Linked DNA regions of Homo sapiens: region 2 is linked to region 1. Evidence: promoter capture Hi-C in 16 types of primary human blood cells and fetal thymus (Javierre and others, 2016). All regions are on one chromosome and are shown on one strand. The core of a region is centred on a gene start or on the middle of the fragment in contact, and the rest is flanking DNA. Distances in the headings are between cores, read along the strand shown. Region 1 overlaps LOC105369321 (a long non-coding RNA gene). Region 2 holds the start of MS4A1 (membrane spanning 4-domains A1).

Region 1 (7,557 bases), core at 3,770-6,269:
ACGGATTCTGTATTCTTGTCTCTAACCCAGCTATACTGTCAGGATATGGGTCTATTGGAGCTTATAGACAGAGGCACAATCCCAGGAGGAAATTCCTACCCCCAGGTCACATCAGCCCTTGTGTTGAGTCCAGGTTACAAGTCCAAACATTCTTTTCTTTCATTGTTTCTCTTTAGTGTCCTTTCCTATCAACAGGGCAAATTTATGTAAGTTTCTCTATTAAATAAGTTCTATAACACTAAACCTCAAGGGTGTCACAATTCCATCTTCCCCAGAGATTTATTGGACTCAATGAAAATTTCCTGTTATTATCCACAACAATAAACAGGAAAACACAATCAATGATTCTCATCATACATTTGGCAGAAATATATCAGTATATCATCATCCTCAATAATTATCCATTGTAATTACAATTAAAAAATATTTAAAATTCTATTGTTGAGGGTGGAGGATAGGGTGGGTAGTTTTTCTCTTCTATTTTTCTTCTTCAATTTTAAGATACCTTTATTATTTCTAAAGTGCTCACATAGAAAGATCTGTAAGGAATGTACATTTTCTTTGTGGATACAGAAAAGTGGCAAACTCCTTTCGGAATATCTGTTCATATTAACCATCTTGGAGTTGTTTGTGGCAAGTATAGTCAGCCACTGGGCATCCTAAGCAAAAAAGAGAAGAAGATAAAGATGCAGTGAGTATCCCATTTTTCCCTTAGTAGATCAGAAGATGTTGTCTTCTGTTATGAACACTATTTGAATAACTAAGGTTTTGATATGAATTAAGTATAAATAATGCCATCACTAAGCTGTGATTGTAGATAGCTGAAAACACTCGGCACTAACTGTCATGCACTTATATGGGTCCCTCCACAACTGAATAAATAATTTTCCCTTTTATAAAGGTGTTTTGCATTACAGGATGCTTTTATGTCCATAACATATGAGAGAATAAGGTAGAAGATATGTGATTTTCTGGCTCAGGTCTGTTTAATTCTACAGACATTACCCTGGAAACAAAAAGCTTTGTAGAAGTTGTTACCAGGCACGGGGATATGGGACTACTGAAGACTGAAGCCTTTATTTCTCAAAATTTGGGAGAACAAGTTGAATATCTAAGTGTAGAACTTTAGTGTCTTCAGAAACCAAGATTTGGGAGTAATGGAGAAGTTGAAAAAGATGGTAAAGCCTTTTTTCAATAAAGCTATTTTCCTACTTTCTCCATATCAACTACTTCACGTCTAAAGGAAAACTTAACCTCCATTTGACCTCACTAAATCAGAGAACTTCAATCTCACTAAATCAGAGAACTTCAGTGAAAGATATGCCTGCCCTTTTTCCCCAGTACCCACTCAACAGGCCGAGGCTTAGAGATCTATGAGATCATAAAAACAACTGAGAAGGAGACCACAGTTAACACAAAGAAGAAAGTGAGTTGTCCATATATCCTAGACCACATGTGTAGAAAGGTTTAGGAAATTTAAGCTTCCTCCCCATTTTACCACTTTCTAATCTCATCTGTTTGACCCTTTGACCTGCCTTCTTACCTGGGTCTTACTTAATCTCTTCAGGTTGCTGTTCTGTCCCTTGACTTTTCCAACTGTACCTCTATAGTTTTTGTATAGGCAACACCATATATACCTACAGCTTGGTAGATGTATACCATCTATAAATTTATAATAATCCAAATGTTAAATCTCCACCCTAGACCTTTCTACTGAGCTCTAGGCTCATATTGCCAACTTCTCTCTAGAGAGTTTGATTCGAAGGATTCCAAAGCACCTCAAATAAAACATATCTAAAACTGAACTAATCATCTCACCCACAAAGTCATTACCTTGTCTTTTCCATTTAAGAGCACCACCATCTATCTACCTGCCTGCCCTGGCGAGGGAGCTGAGAAATACTCTCAAATTGAAACAATTTGACAATCCTTTTTACATGATCCCCTAAATGTATTTCAATTCTGTCCTCTGTTTCTTCATCTCCCCAAATGAAAGTTTAAACAGGAAACACTTACCACACGAAAGCCTGATATTCTAGCACAACATTCATTTCTGTAATAATTTAGCCCAATCTACTTTCTTGACTTCATTTCCTACCACTCACGCCCATAAATGCTGTGCTCCAGCCTCACCAATTTACTTATCATTCCATAAATATGCCTTGTTAAGTTTACCATCTTAATTTGTAAATAGCTTTGTTTAGGAATCTCTATTTTGAATTAAACTGATAAAATGAATTAGGAGGGAGAGGAATTTATCATATAGATTTCTTTTCTTGTATTTCCCACTTTCTCTTGACACTCAGAGGCTACATCTTCATTTGTACTGCAAAAGTCACTTGCTTTTCAAAACATGTGAATTAGCTATAATTCCAGATGAATTAGGGTATTGAAAACCTGTTATCTGGATCACTGATTGCCTTTCAATGAATCTTCTTTAAGTAAGGTATTAAAATGGGGAGCTGAAGTTCCATCTAAAGGTATTCAAACTCGAAATCTCAAAAAAATATGGCTCTAACTAAAAGCAAAGTAAACAAAACACACCAAACACACACACACACACACACACACACACACACACACACTCACAGAGGTCTTATTCTTAATTCTTCTCTGAATAAAGTGAAAAGAGAACAAACATGGATTGGGTATATAAGAACATATAGATTTCTACTCCAACTAAATAGAATTTAAACTGACAGCTATTCAATGCTATACTTAATAATGTAATCAAGTTTGAGTAGAAAACAATATGCCCTTTATGATCAATCATTGTCTTGGGGACTGTCTTTTCATATAGCATTGTCTTTGGCTTTCAATCTATAGAAACAAAAAAGAAGGGAGGATGGAAACCAGGGAGAAAGGGAGAGAGGACAAAGAAAAAAACTAAAAAGTATCAAAAGCACATGGTTTAATTTAAAAATCTCGCCTGGTGGGGTGGTTCACACCCATAATTCCAGCACTTTGAGAGGCTAAAGCAGGGGAATTGCTTGAGCTCAGGATTTTGAGACCAGCCTGGGGAACACAATGAGACCCCATCTCTACAAAAATATAAAATAAAATAAAATAAAATAAAATAAAATAAAATAAAATAAAATAAAATAAAATAGTAAAGTAAAGTAAAATAAAATAAAATAAAATGCATAAAGTTGAAAAAATTACCCAGGAGTGGTGGCACATCCCTGCAGTCCTTAGCTACTTAGGAGGGGAAGGTGGAAGGAGGGCTTGTGCCCAGGAATTCAGAGTTACAGTGAGCAATGATAGTGCCACTGCATTCCAGGCTGGGTGACAGAGACCTCATCTCTAAAAAAATAAATAAAATAAAAATCTCAATGAGGAGAATACTTCTATTAGAATTATTTCCAAAATTCTAACCCAAATTCTATAGTTCTTTATTTTAGAGTGTGCTAATGATCAATTTACTGATATCTAACTTACCTCAGGTTCATGGCAGAAGGAGATCCTTTCTCTGCATATTAAAGAAACCATCAGTGAGCTCAGTCAAGGAGGAAAGTTTAGTGGCAAATGAAGAACTTCATTCTGTTCAAGAGGCTTCTTGGAAAATGTAATTTCATTAAATCCATCTCAGTATTCTCTTCCCCCTATTTCATTAATAAAAATTAAAATTGATGAATATGGTTATTTTTGTCTACATGAGGAACTGTGCATGAATTTATCTCAGTTTGAATATGGTCAGCCTGAGTTAAGGGATTCTTCCATACAAGAGAAGTTCTATGAATGGGCACATGTTACTAGAGTAGAATCTATACCTAAAATTGATAATGATGTAATAAATGCTAACTCGAGAAAATTATTTCATTGTGAGAAGGAGACTTCGCATAAATGATAAATAATCCCATTGCTTGTGAAGGCTTCTTTGCTTATTAGCTCTAAATACTACTAATTATTTCTTTCTCACTGGATATTATTAAAACATGCATAGCTTACCTACAGTGAAGAAGGTATATTACAATTAGCCATATCTTTATGTTATTGAGACTACATGAATTAATAGCTACTGGATTTAGTTTGTCTAGAAAGTCCAGCTCCCAAAACGTTACATATTTTTGCCTATAATTTTACACTGTGGCTTATCACACTCAAATTTTAAGCAAATTATCTTAGAAATGTTTTGTTGTGTCTATAAGGATGCTTCCTATTTTTTAAATTTTCTTTGATCTCCATACCCCACTCCCCCTTCCCTCCCTCCATGAGCAATTGTTCCACTTTATAAAACATGCATATTTTATTTGTCAGTATCTCCCCAAAAATGTATGGCATTCTATTGTAGGAATGTATCTGGAATCCATGAAGTTCATACACACCCATAAATTACATGCACAAACTTTGCTCCTCCTAACAGTAAGTTTTAAAGATCTATCCGTGTGGCTATCAGTACCTCTATCAGTTGATTTTAAATGCTGCCTAAAGTCTGTGCCATGCACCCCGCACATTTATACATTCGCTGTCCCAGAAATGGGCAACTGGGTTCCCCCCATCTTGCCCCTTAAGTAATTTGGGGGGATACAAATTCAAGATTAGAGTATCTGTGTTATTTACATATATGCCATTTGTTTATGAAGTGCAAAAATTTCCACCATTTAGAACAGTCTTCTGTTGCAGGTCCTTTATTATTGTGTGTTTTTCTTCAGTCTAGTCTGTATACTTTTGTTCTCTTAGGAATTCACAGATTCTGGTTCACCAAGAGAGTTGCTTCTTATTTTTCAATGTGGCAATGGAATTTTTTTTGTAAGTGTGCTCCTTGGAATTGGAGTTCATATGAAGAATAAGTAGCATCTGCTTGGTCTACCTTCATGAACTAAAAACCACAACTGTGAGAGAGACTTGCATAAATGTATGGGTTGAGAAGAAATACAAAGCAGGGAGTAATATTTGAATATACTGGGGAGAAAGAGATAATTGATGGATTAAGGTTTATAAGCCCTTTGAAGGACATGAGATTAGTAGCACAGGGACAGATTACACTTTAGAATAGAGGAAAGACACCTAATTCTGATCAAGTAAGAAAATAGTGAAAAATTAGCTTTAATGTAAATGTTCTTTATCCATTCCTCCATATGAGAAGGATAAGAAAGAACATGAGAGACTTTGTCTTTCCTTTGAAAAAATTGACAAGGCAGTCATTTAGGAGTGAGGGGTGGTAATGAATAAAGTACTTGTTTGGATTAAGAGTTGCCAGGAATCAGAGGCAAAATTGGCCAAATTATACTCAACGATTTAATTAGAAGCACAGATGAAGATACTGGACTTTCAGATGACATCTTTGTTGGGTGTCTATCCATGCCATTGTGAGAGTTTCCCTAAAATATCCTACACAGAAAAGGTGGCATTACAAGGTGGCAAACTTGCATTTGTGGGTTTTAATAAGATGATAATTAGTGGATCTGTGGGATCCAGGCTGAATGAGGAAGGATATGATGCCAGAAATTTTGAAAGAAATGTAGAGATTGGGGGCCAATAATCTGAAAAGGGGCTGCTAACACCTAAGATGCCTTTGTGCAAACTAGACAAAAGTACCCCGTTCAAAAGGACAGATTGCTTAATAACAGCTCCTCTGGGAAAATGAAATAGAAGGTAAGTCCCCTCTGAACAGTACAATTAGAAATTGAGGCCCCTTCCTCCTAGCTAATCAACCCAGCACCAAGGGAGTCTGCCCTGCAAGTGGAGACCAGGTGCAACTGCAGCCCCAATCTTTGACCCCATTTACATGCATCCTTGAACAAGGTCCCAGCTTCAGAGCCTGAGCTAGTTTAACACAAAGAACAGCTCTAGATAGGGAGTCATGACATGGCAGATCTGAAAGATATTTGTTTTTGATCACAGAGCAGGATATCACAATTGAGATACCGGAGAGAATGAGCCGCAAATGTAAATATAGGGTAGCTCCTCCATTTATTCATACATTCATCATAAACTACTTTTTGACAATCTACTTTGCACCAGGCATAATTCTTGCTTCTGGCAACAGATTTAAACAGAAGAGACAAGATCCTGCCTTCAGGGAGCTTATATTCTAGGGAGAGGAAGTCAGTGACACTATATGGACCATGCACTGGTCAACAAAGCAAATACATAAAAATTTAAAAGGCCAATCTCTCCTTCCCCCATAAAAAAAAAAAGAAAAAGAATCATAGTCACCCTTGGAGGGTGTTCATTATTTCAAAATTTCATAAGTAAAGAGATAAAGCACACATCTTGCCTTTCATTTTTGTAACAGTTTCATTGAGATATAATTCACATATTATAAAATTTACCTATTTATTTGTGGGTTTTTTTGTTTCTTTGTTTGTTTTTGAGATGGGGTCTCGCTCTGTTGCCCAGGCTGGAGTGCAGTGGCGCAATCTCAGCTCAGTGAAAGCTATGCCTCCTGGGTTCACACCATTCTCCTGCCTCAGCCTCCCAAGTAGCTGGGACTACAGGCACCCGCCACCATGCCTGACTAATTTTTTGTATTTTTAGTAGAGCCAGGATGGTCTTGATCTCCTGACCTCGTGATCTGCCCGCCTCCGCCTCCCAAAGTGCTGGGATTACAGGCGTGAGCGACTGTGCCCAGCCTGAAATTTACCTATTTAAAGTATATAGTTTAGTGGCTTTTAGTATATTCACAGAGTTGTGTAAGTAACACCACCTAATTTTGGACCCAAACCCATTAGGAGTAATTCTTATTCTCCACCCACTTACCTCAGTATTAGCAAATCACTGGTCTACTTTCTGTCTCTGTGGATTTGCCTACCAGGGCTATTTTATATGAACGTCTTTTGTGACTTGCTTCTTTCACTTACCGTAATGATTCCAAGGCTTATTCATGCTGTAGCATAAACTATAACTTTGTTGTGTTTCATTATCAAATAATACATTATATGGATATACCAAATATTGTTTGTTCATTCATGAGTTGATAGGGATTTGGGTTGTTTTCATTTTTGGCTATTAGGAATATATAAGAATGCTCCTATGAACATTTGTGTGCAAGTTTTTTTTGTAATGAGGACTTTCCTGACTCCCCTCATTTACATTTCCATTGACGCCACCTCCCTTTCATACTTTATTATTCTCCTTAGCTCTCATTATTCTTAACATGCTATAAATTTTCCTTATGAATCTTATTATTGTTTTCCTTATTATTAGAATTTCATCTGTTTTGTTCACTACAGTATCCCCAGCATTGAGAACAATGCCTAGCACATACTGGCACTCAGTGGAAATTTGCTAAATTCATTAATCATAAAAACGGCAAACATAAAAGAGTTCAACAAACATGACTGTCATCTATTACTCATTAGCCAGCTGATGCTAACACTTTAATAAATTAGACAAAACCTTGCAATCATTCATTTATTCCTACTATGTGTTGAGGATAGTTGTTAAACACTGAATATACAACTCAAACTGTCAGGTTCAGCATGACGGACATATATGCACCCGGTTATTGCAGTGGAATATGTTTGTAATCGCAGTGGAATGTGTTTGTAAAACATCTTTGGTTTTCAAAGTTCTGCAGTATAAGCGTATGAGGTACCTGAGCGGGTATCATCT
Region 2 (7,557 bases), core at 2,571-5,070, 160 kb before region 1:
GAGACTTTTCATTTTGTTCTGTACTAAGAAAACTTCTGCCTTGGGATCCTGTTGATCTGTGACCTTACCCCCAACGCTGTGCTCTCTGAAACATGTGCTCTGTCCACTCAGGGTTCAATGGATTAAGGGCGGTGCAAGGTGTGCTTTGTTAAACAGATGCTTGAAGGCAGCATGCTCGTTAAGAGTCATCACCACTCCCTAATCTCAAGTACCCAGGGACACAAACACTGCGGAAGGCCGCGGGGTCCTCTGCCTAGGAAAACCAGAGACCTTTGTTCACTTGTTTATCTGCTGACCTTCCCTCCACTATTGTCCTATGACCCTGCCAAATCCCCCTCTGTGAGAAACACCCAAGAATTATCAATAAAAAATAAATAAATTAAAAAAAAAAAGAAAACACAAAAACTAAGCAATATGTCCGTGTGAAATGTAAGCATATGTGGAAAGTCAAAATACAATGAAAAGGAAGAGAGTGATAAACACCAAATTCAGCATAATTGTGAGCTCTGATAAAGAGGGTGGCTTGGGGAAGGATAACCTGAGAGCTTTCAAAGGTATCAGTGACACTCTTGTATCTCTAATCATGGCTGTGGGCACATGGTTTCTTGTCTCACTGTTATAAGTACTTTTTCATACATATTATTTAATTTTTTGAGAAATATAATTGAGAAAGCAAAACAACATCTTATTTTCATTAAATTTTTTATCACATAATGATATTTTTATAGTCAACACCTGCAGAAAAATGTTACCGTTACATATCAGTAACACTTCATCTCCAATGATAGCATATTTATTGGTACATAAGAGAAAAAACTCTTTTCAATAACTATGAGGTCATAATTGCATTTTTTTCTTCAGCTATATTCCCACGTCACAAAAGCAAAGGGAGTGATCCAGTAATCTGCACATGGGAGTACATCAGACATTTTTATATCTTAAAACGAATAATAATAAATGTTTTGCCATTTAAAGCTGTGTCACTTGAACAAATTAATCTTTGCGGGCTTAAAATTTTTAGACTAGAATGCAATAATAGTAATACCTACCTAATGGGTTTACTGTGAACCTTAAATGAAACATGGAAAGTGAGTTTATCAGTGCCTGGAACTTAAAAATCACTTAGTAAATGCTAGTTTTTGAAATTTATAATTGAGATTTTCTTGCTCTAAACATCACTTATTTTACCATTTACCAGCTTTCCAACTTGGGAATGGCTTCCTCCATTTCCTGAAATTTAGTTTCCACAATTATAAAACAGAATCAATATTATATGTGTGGTAAGGCTTATATGTGGACAATTCTTGACATAAAAGGAATTATTTAACTAATATTACCTTCCTAGCTGTTCCAAATGTATAGTCCCTTAGAAGAGAAAGAAGACCCTATCAACTATAAAGTTCTTAAGTATTTCAATTTACATTTTCCTTACTATGAATTATTTATAAGTGCAACAATGGGATTTTCTGACCTGTAACCAAGTTCTATTTGCAATTAGATCTTTAGCCTCACCTCTGACGAGCCCTATGTCTCCCTTACCAATTCTTTGACACCAGAACCCTCCAACAGCAGATAATTCTGGGTGCCAGGGCCTTGCTGAGAAGTTGAGAACGTGGCATAATGTTACTTCCTAATATTGGAGAGCCTGGGGACAATCACCTGGGTGAAAGAAAAAGCCAAACAGAACCATTCCTTCTCAGCACTGCCAGGGACACAGCAATCACAAAAACTGACCCTGCCTTCAAGGGACAAGGAGACAATGGCTGATTAAGGCAAGGACACAAATAATTATGATGTAGCACACAGTTTTCATATAGAAGGCAATGATTAAAAAAATTGGAGTGCTGGGACGTGCAGAGAATAAAAAGGAAATTCACATCAGGAAAATACTAACTAAATAAAAGTTGGCATACTTTTATGTAGACTTTAAGATTGTCTTTTGGAAGCAAGGTCACTAGATAATGAAAATAGGCTTAATTCAAAGAGAAATATTTTAAATATGTTATCAACCTAATAAAATATTCTCAAACCTTGGGGGAAGAGTGATGGTGATACATCAAATAAGATGCTATTGACAAGTCCAAATTGTAGTGAGAATTTCAACACACTCAAGCACTAAAATGTTGATCATTCAAATGAGCAAAGACAAGGTAAATGTTTATGCATTCATACAAATTCAAATTCAAGTTTATTTGGGAAGAATCATACATAGAGCCACCTAAGTTATCTCATTGGCCACAAAGTAGCAAACAACCTGAGACTGACTGGGGAAATACAGGGCTCAAACAGAGAAAAGGATGCAAAAGACCAGGTTGTGCTGCCACAACTCAAGCCCCTTTGCTGCCATACATTTGCCAAGTCCTGACCCTGTTCCCATGCCAACTAAAATGAAGGCACATGCCTCTAACCACCCCACCATCCAGGACTCAAACCTCAGGTTTCACAATCATCCACAACTCAGACCCTAGGTAATTGTCCTCCCATCACCAATCACTCAAGCATTTCAGCAGATATGCATAGACCCTCAATTAGAATGTTAAATGGATGATGGATCTTCTGTTCCCACTCTCCTTCACTCTACAGCATCTCTGAGAGGTGACTGCATGACTTTACTTGAGTATTCTTGAAGAAGTAAATTCTCTATTGAAATGGTAGCCAGTTCCCCTAATGAACGGCTCCAACAATTTTTTTTTTTAGAGTGGCATCTTTTTAAATATCACACCACAATCAGCCTCCCCAGAACTACTTCTACCCAGTGGATCTAACCCTATGGTTCCAAACTATCTTAAATTTAAAAAGAGAGGCAGAAAGAGAAAGAGAGAAGAGATGAAAGAGAGAGACAGGAATGAACCTCGAATTAGGCAACAGAGCTGCCTGCCATATTTCATCCCTTTAGATTAAATAAACAAATAATTACCTAACTATAGCTCTGTGTCTCTAATAAAATGAAGCAATGAACAGGGAAATAAAAATGTAATTAAAAATCCCACATATGAACATAAAAGTTGAATATTGTAGGGGGAGAGAGAGGACATTATCTTTGGGCAAAACTTTGATTCACATCCCAAATATTTAGACTCTCCTGACACTACCAACTTCTTCCATTTCCCTACTTGATCTAGTACTGTGCTTGATGACCCTGCAGCTCCAGACTAGACTAAAAAGAGAGGGGACACAAGGGAACTTGACAGACAGAAGAAAAAGGTGGGTTCAGAGGTAAAAGTGCTATTTCAATTTATATTTCCAAATATGGAGGCTAATTCTTGCTTTGAGTGGCTGGGTACATGTACTATGGCACTAAAGTATAATTTTAGGCCATTTCTGCTAAATCTGACACAAGATATATACATGGTTCATAAGAAACTTAAGTGTGAGCCAATGAGGACAATATTTGGGGACCCCTAAGTATAGTGCTGCCAAGTGTACAGCCTCAGTGATTCTTGAATCTCTGCATGGATGCCTCCTGCCCACCTACTCAGCCCTAAAAGTGAAGCCAGAAGGTAAAAGTCAGTGCTAACGGCCCATCTTTGACCAACTTCTAGAATCTTTCTTGTCCTCAGGGACCTACCATCCACACCTGCTTATAGGGTGGGGGCTGCAGAAGTTCTTCTAATTAAGGTAGCATGAGCATGCCAGGCAGTCCCCTGGGGTCTTTTTCAAGAAGTGAAACCTGGTAAGGCAGAAACTTTTTTTGCACCTCCTTCAGCTATGGTAAGTGTTAAACCAAAGTAATTGGAGCGAAGCCCAAGGTAGCAGAAGCTACTGATTTCCTGTCACCTGATGTCTATCAGCGATTTCATCTTCAGGCCTGGACTACACCACTCACCCTCCCAGTGTGCTTGAGAAACAAACTGCACCCACTGAACTCCGCAGCTAGCATCCAAATCAGCCCTTGAGATTTGAGGCCTTGGAGACTCAGGTAAGGAATCAATTTGCTTTCTTTAAATGACTTAAAGGAGGTGATGGATAAGGTATAGAATGGTTTTGAAGACTGGAGGTTCTTGATCTTAATTCTAGAGTTTCCCTAGTCAGACTTCCTAATAGTTCTATGACTTAAGGAGGGGTGACGATATCAAGGCTTGCTGCCCACTCACTCCTCTAATCAGTCTCCCTCTCAACAATTACCCTATGCAGTCAACTGTGAATCATTCCACAAAAGTAGTAGATTGCAGCATATATATTAAATCATGGTTTCTAAACCATTGGGTTCAAACTGGAGCTCTACCACTAACAAACAATATAACCTTGGGCAAATTACTAAACCTCTAAAGCCTCAGCTTCCTCATCTATAAAATGGGGGCAATGGTACCCATTACATTAGGAAAATTGGAACTAAAATCCTGAATCCCTTAGGACTTCCCAATACCAAATGAGAAAATAATCAGTCATAGGCATAATGAAAAAAACTCCATTTGTCTTCCTGTAAATGCTTTTGTCTACATTAAATGTAAATATACCTAGAAGTATAGGTGGCTTTACAGGCTAACATTTTCTGGAGGGGATTTGTGGACACCAAGTTGAGCATGAAATCCTGCCTCAAATCTATCACATGGGAAACCAAGAGTAAGAGGGGGCGCTGCAGATGTGGGGGAGCTCTAATGAAGGAAAACAAGGATTAATTTTAATCATGCCATTACTGTTTTCTGAATCCAGTATATAAGTGATTCCCTTTCCCTGTTTCCCATAAAATGGCTTAATCTCACTGAGAATCCGGTGGAAAGAAATGTTTAATCCAGCATTGTGAGCATTTTTGTGTGTGTGTTTTGTTTGTTTGTTCATTTTTTAGTGGAGACAAGGTTTCTCCATGTTGGCCAGGCTGGTCTCGAGCTCCCGACCTCAGGGGATCCACCTGCCTCGGCTTCCCAAAGTGCTGGGATTACAGGTGTGAGCCACTGCACCTGGCCATTGTGAGCACTTGTTAAGCTTCCCTGAGGAAGTAGCTGAGTTTGATGTTCAGCTTAATGTAACTGAGCTCATAGTACATAGAAAACAGGTTCCCTATGCAAGTCTAGTAGGATACAGGATTCTCCGAAGAAAGTAGTTGATGTCTAGTAAGGAAAGCAAAGAGCTAGGAGCTCTGAAGAATTCCTTGCAATCAGGCAAGGAGAGCAGGAACGCCCTCAGGTGATGTGCATATCTAATGCAGAGTTTGATTGAAAGTAAAGAGGGAGGGAGAAGGAACACTTCAAAGTTGAGAAGATTCAGGAAAGAAGGTAGAGGACATGTATAGACCAGTGGCTCTGGTGGCGGTAGTGGGATATGAGCTTGGGAAGTCATACAGGGCTGAATTCCAAAGGCCTTGAGGGGTTAGATGAAGGGTTTCTCCAGCAGGTAATGACAGGCCAGCAAAGGAGTTCAGGCTCAGGAAGAGCATCACTCAAAACAGTGATCGGGAGCTTGATGTAGCAGCCTTGTGGACAATGGATTAGAAAAGAGAAAGACTGAAGGCAGAAAAGCATGAATGGAAATGAGAAACTCACAGGTGACTCTGGATATAGAAAAAAGACCCACATGCAAAATGTATTGCAGAGGTAGAAATGGCATGACTTGGCCACTGACTGACCAACAGCCAAGATGAAGATGGACTGAGAGATGATGGAGCTAAAGTGAAATGTGGTCCCAACTATCTAAGCCTGGGTGGCAGGAGAAACAAATAAAACAATCTGAGACACGAGGCCTGAGAAAAGACCACTGACTTCACAGCACAGTCCTCAAAGACCAGTTTCAGTCCACTGACTGGCGGAAACTAGTTGCCAAGCATTGAGAAGTGAGTGGGTGGAGAGGAGGTGGGGGAAGAGAGTGGGTAGCAAAGCTTTGAAGCAGCTGCGGTGAAGAAAAAGTGAGCCTGGGCAGTGGGCAAGGACATTGCTAGATTAAAAGAAGAGGACTTTGGGATTCAGGGACACTGAAGTACATTTTAGTCATAAAAGGAGTATTTAGCACCTTAACAAATGCAACTTATCTCATATTCTCAAAATGATACTTTGAAATGGGGAAGGTAACTATTACCTTAAACTTACAGAGAGACCACAAGAGGAGCAAGCAAGAGAGCTGGGACTAACTCTGTCTGCTACATATTGCCAGAAATTGGGAGACTGAAGGTGCAAAGAAGAAATAATTTCTTGGAAGGGCTAACAGCTTGGTTGGACTGAGATGGGCTGAAAAGCACAGAGGGAAGGGAAGTAAGAGCACTCTTCCTCGGAGATAGGTGCACAGGAGGCCAGAAGGGATAAAAATGCAAAACTATTTTGAGTGGAAGAGAATGAAGATGAGGTAACAACAGTGAGGCAGTTTTTAAACTTCTCAGTACATGATGGTACGAGTGGACTTAAAAGTCTATTCAAACCAAAACCCATAAAGGCTGTGAGATCTTATTCAGTGGATGGACATGAAAACAGGGGTGCCTTTAAAAATAAAAAAATATTTGCAGGAGTTAGTGTGAGTAATTAAATGCGGTACTGAGTGATCACCTGAGTCTCTATTTTAACATTCATGCTGATTTGGACACCAGCAAATGTAAAATCTTATTGTTATCATATTGCGGCTAATGTGGTCCATAACCCCTACTAATCTACCAACTAGTCTTTGAGCATAACTGTGCATTGGGCACTAAGTCATTGTGAACAATTTATTTTAATGATAAGGCAAAATTGCGAGAATCTCCAATCTCCGTAGGCGAGTTTTATGTATTTATGAATTCTCATGGAACGAAAGCTTTTCATTACAGTCAGCCCACAATGCCATAAATCGATTAATATATTTACCTCTCATATATGAGACAGATATATATATAATCAGATATATATATGAAAGATAGTTTCCATAAGAAATAAAAAAACAGAGAAAGCACTCATGTGTTTCTTTATAAACTACTATTTTATACAAATATTTGTTTAAGGTTTGTAGAAGTATAGTTGCCACCATGAGATACCATTTTAACAGAGAAATATCACACACACACACACACAGCCCTCATGGTCATTATTGCCATTAGTTACAACAGGCATAGCCCAAGTAGAATTGGCTTACAAAAAAGTTTATCTCGCCAATAATACAGACACAGCTTTAATCAAGCAGTTGATGAATAAAATGAAATTAAAACAATGGCAGTCCAATCATCTCCTTCAGTTCAAACAATTGATGACCTTTGCATTTTAAGTTATCTTCACTAAAGTTACCCCTCTGGGGCGGAGTGTAGTGACTCCCAGCTCATTCCATACTTGCCATAGGACCTTGGGAAAAATAACCTCTCTCAACCTCCATTTCTTCATCTGCAGAAAGTAGTCAAAATGCCTACTTACGAAGGTGTTGAGTGAGTTGGCAATACCATATACAATATCTCTAGTATATAGTAGGTGCTCAGTAAACAACTATAATTATCTGGACTCACCTATGGTACAGCAGAAAAAGCATCAACATCAGAGCCATGGTGAGTGCCTTCTAGCTTGGCTCTGTTGCTAACTGTGAGGTCTTTACTAAGGCAAATTCTATACCCAGACTGCAGCTTCCTCATTTGTGAAATGAACAGAATGGTTTCTGAGGTTTGGACTAGCTCTA

What was found. The method cuts DNA at HindIII sites, captures the fragments that hold promoters and counts their contacts. A CHiCAGO score of 5 or more calls a contact.
Region 2: a contact is called between the fragment with the promoter of MS4A1 here and a fragment that was not itself captured in region 1, in 3 of 17 cell types (total B cells, naive B cells and M2 macrophages). The highest score is 8.1, in total B cells.

The regions. Positions count from the first base shown.
Region 1 is chr11:60,607,806-60,615,362 of GRCh38, forward strand. LOC105369321 (a long non-coding RNA gene) reads right to left here. Exons shown (of 6, transcript XR_001748240.2): 5 at 3,439-3,602; 6 at 490-659. It also overlaps the pseudogene MS4A19P. Among named protein-coding and RNA genes, the nearest start is that of LINC00301, 4.2 kb to the right of the region's middle. The HindIII fragment of the contact is 7,080 bases long and covers 1,480-7,557 here.
Region 2 is chr11:60,452,027-60,459,583 of GRCh38, forward strand. MS4A1 (membrane spanning 4-domains A1) reads left to right here and starts at 3,821. Exons shown (of 8, transcript NM_152866.3): 1 at 3,821-3,919. RefSeq lists an enhancer at 5,900-6,009. The HindIII fragment of the contact is 9,401 bases long and covers 1-4,921 here.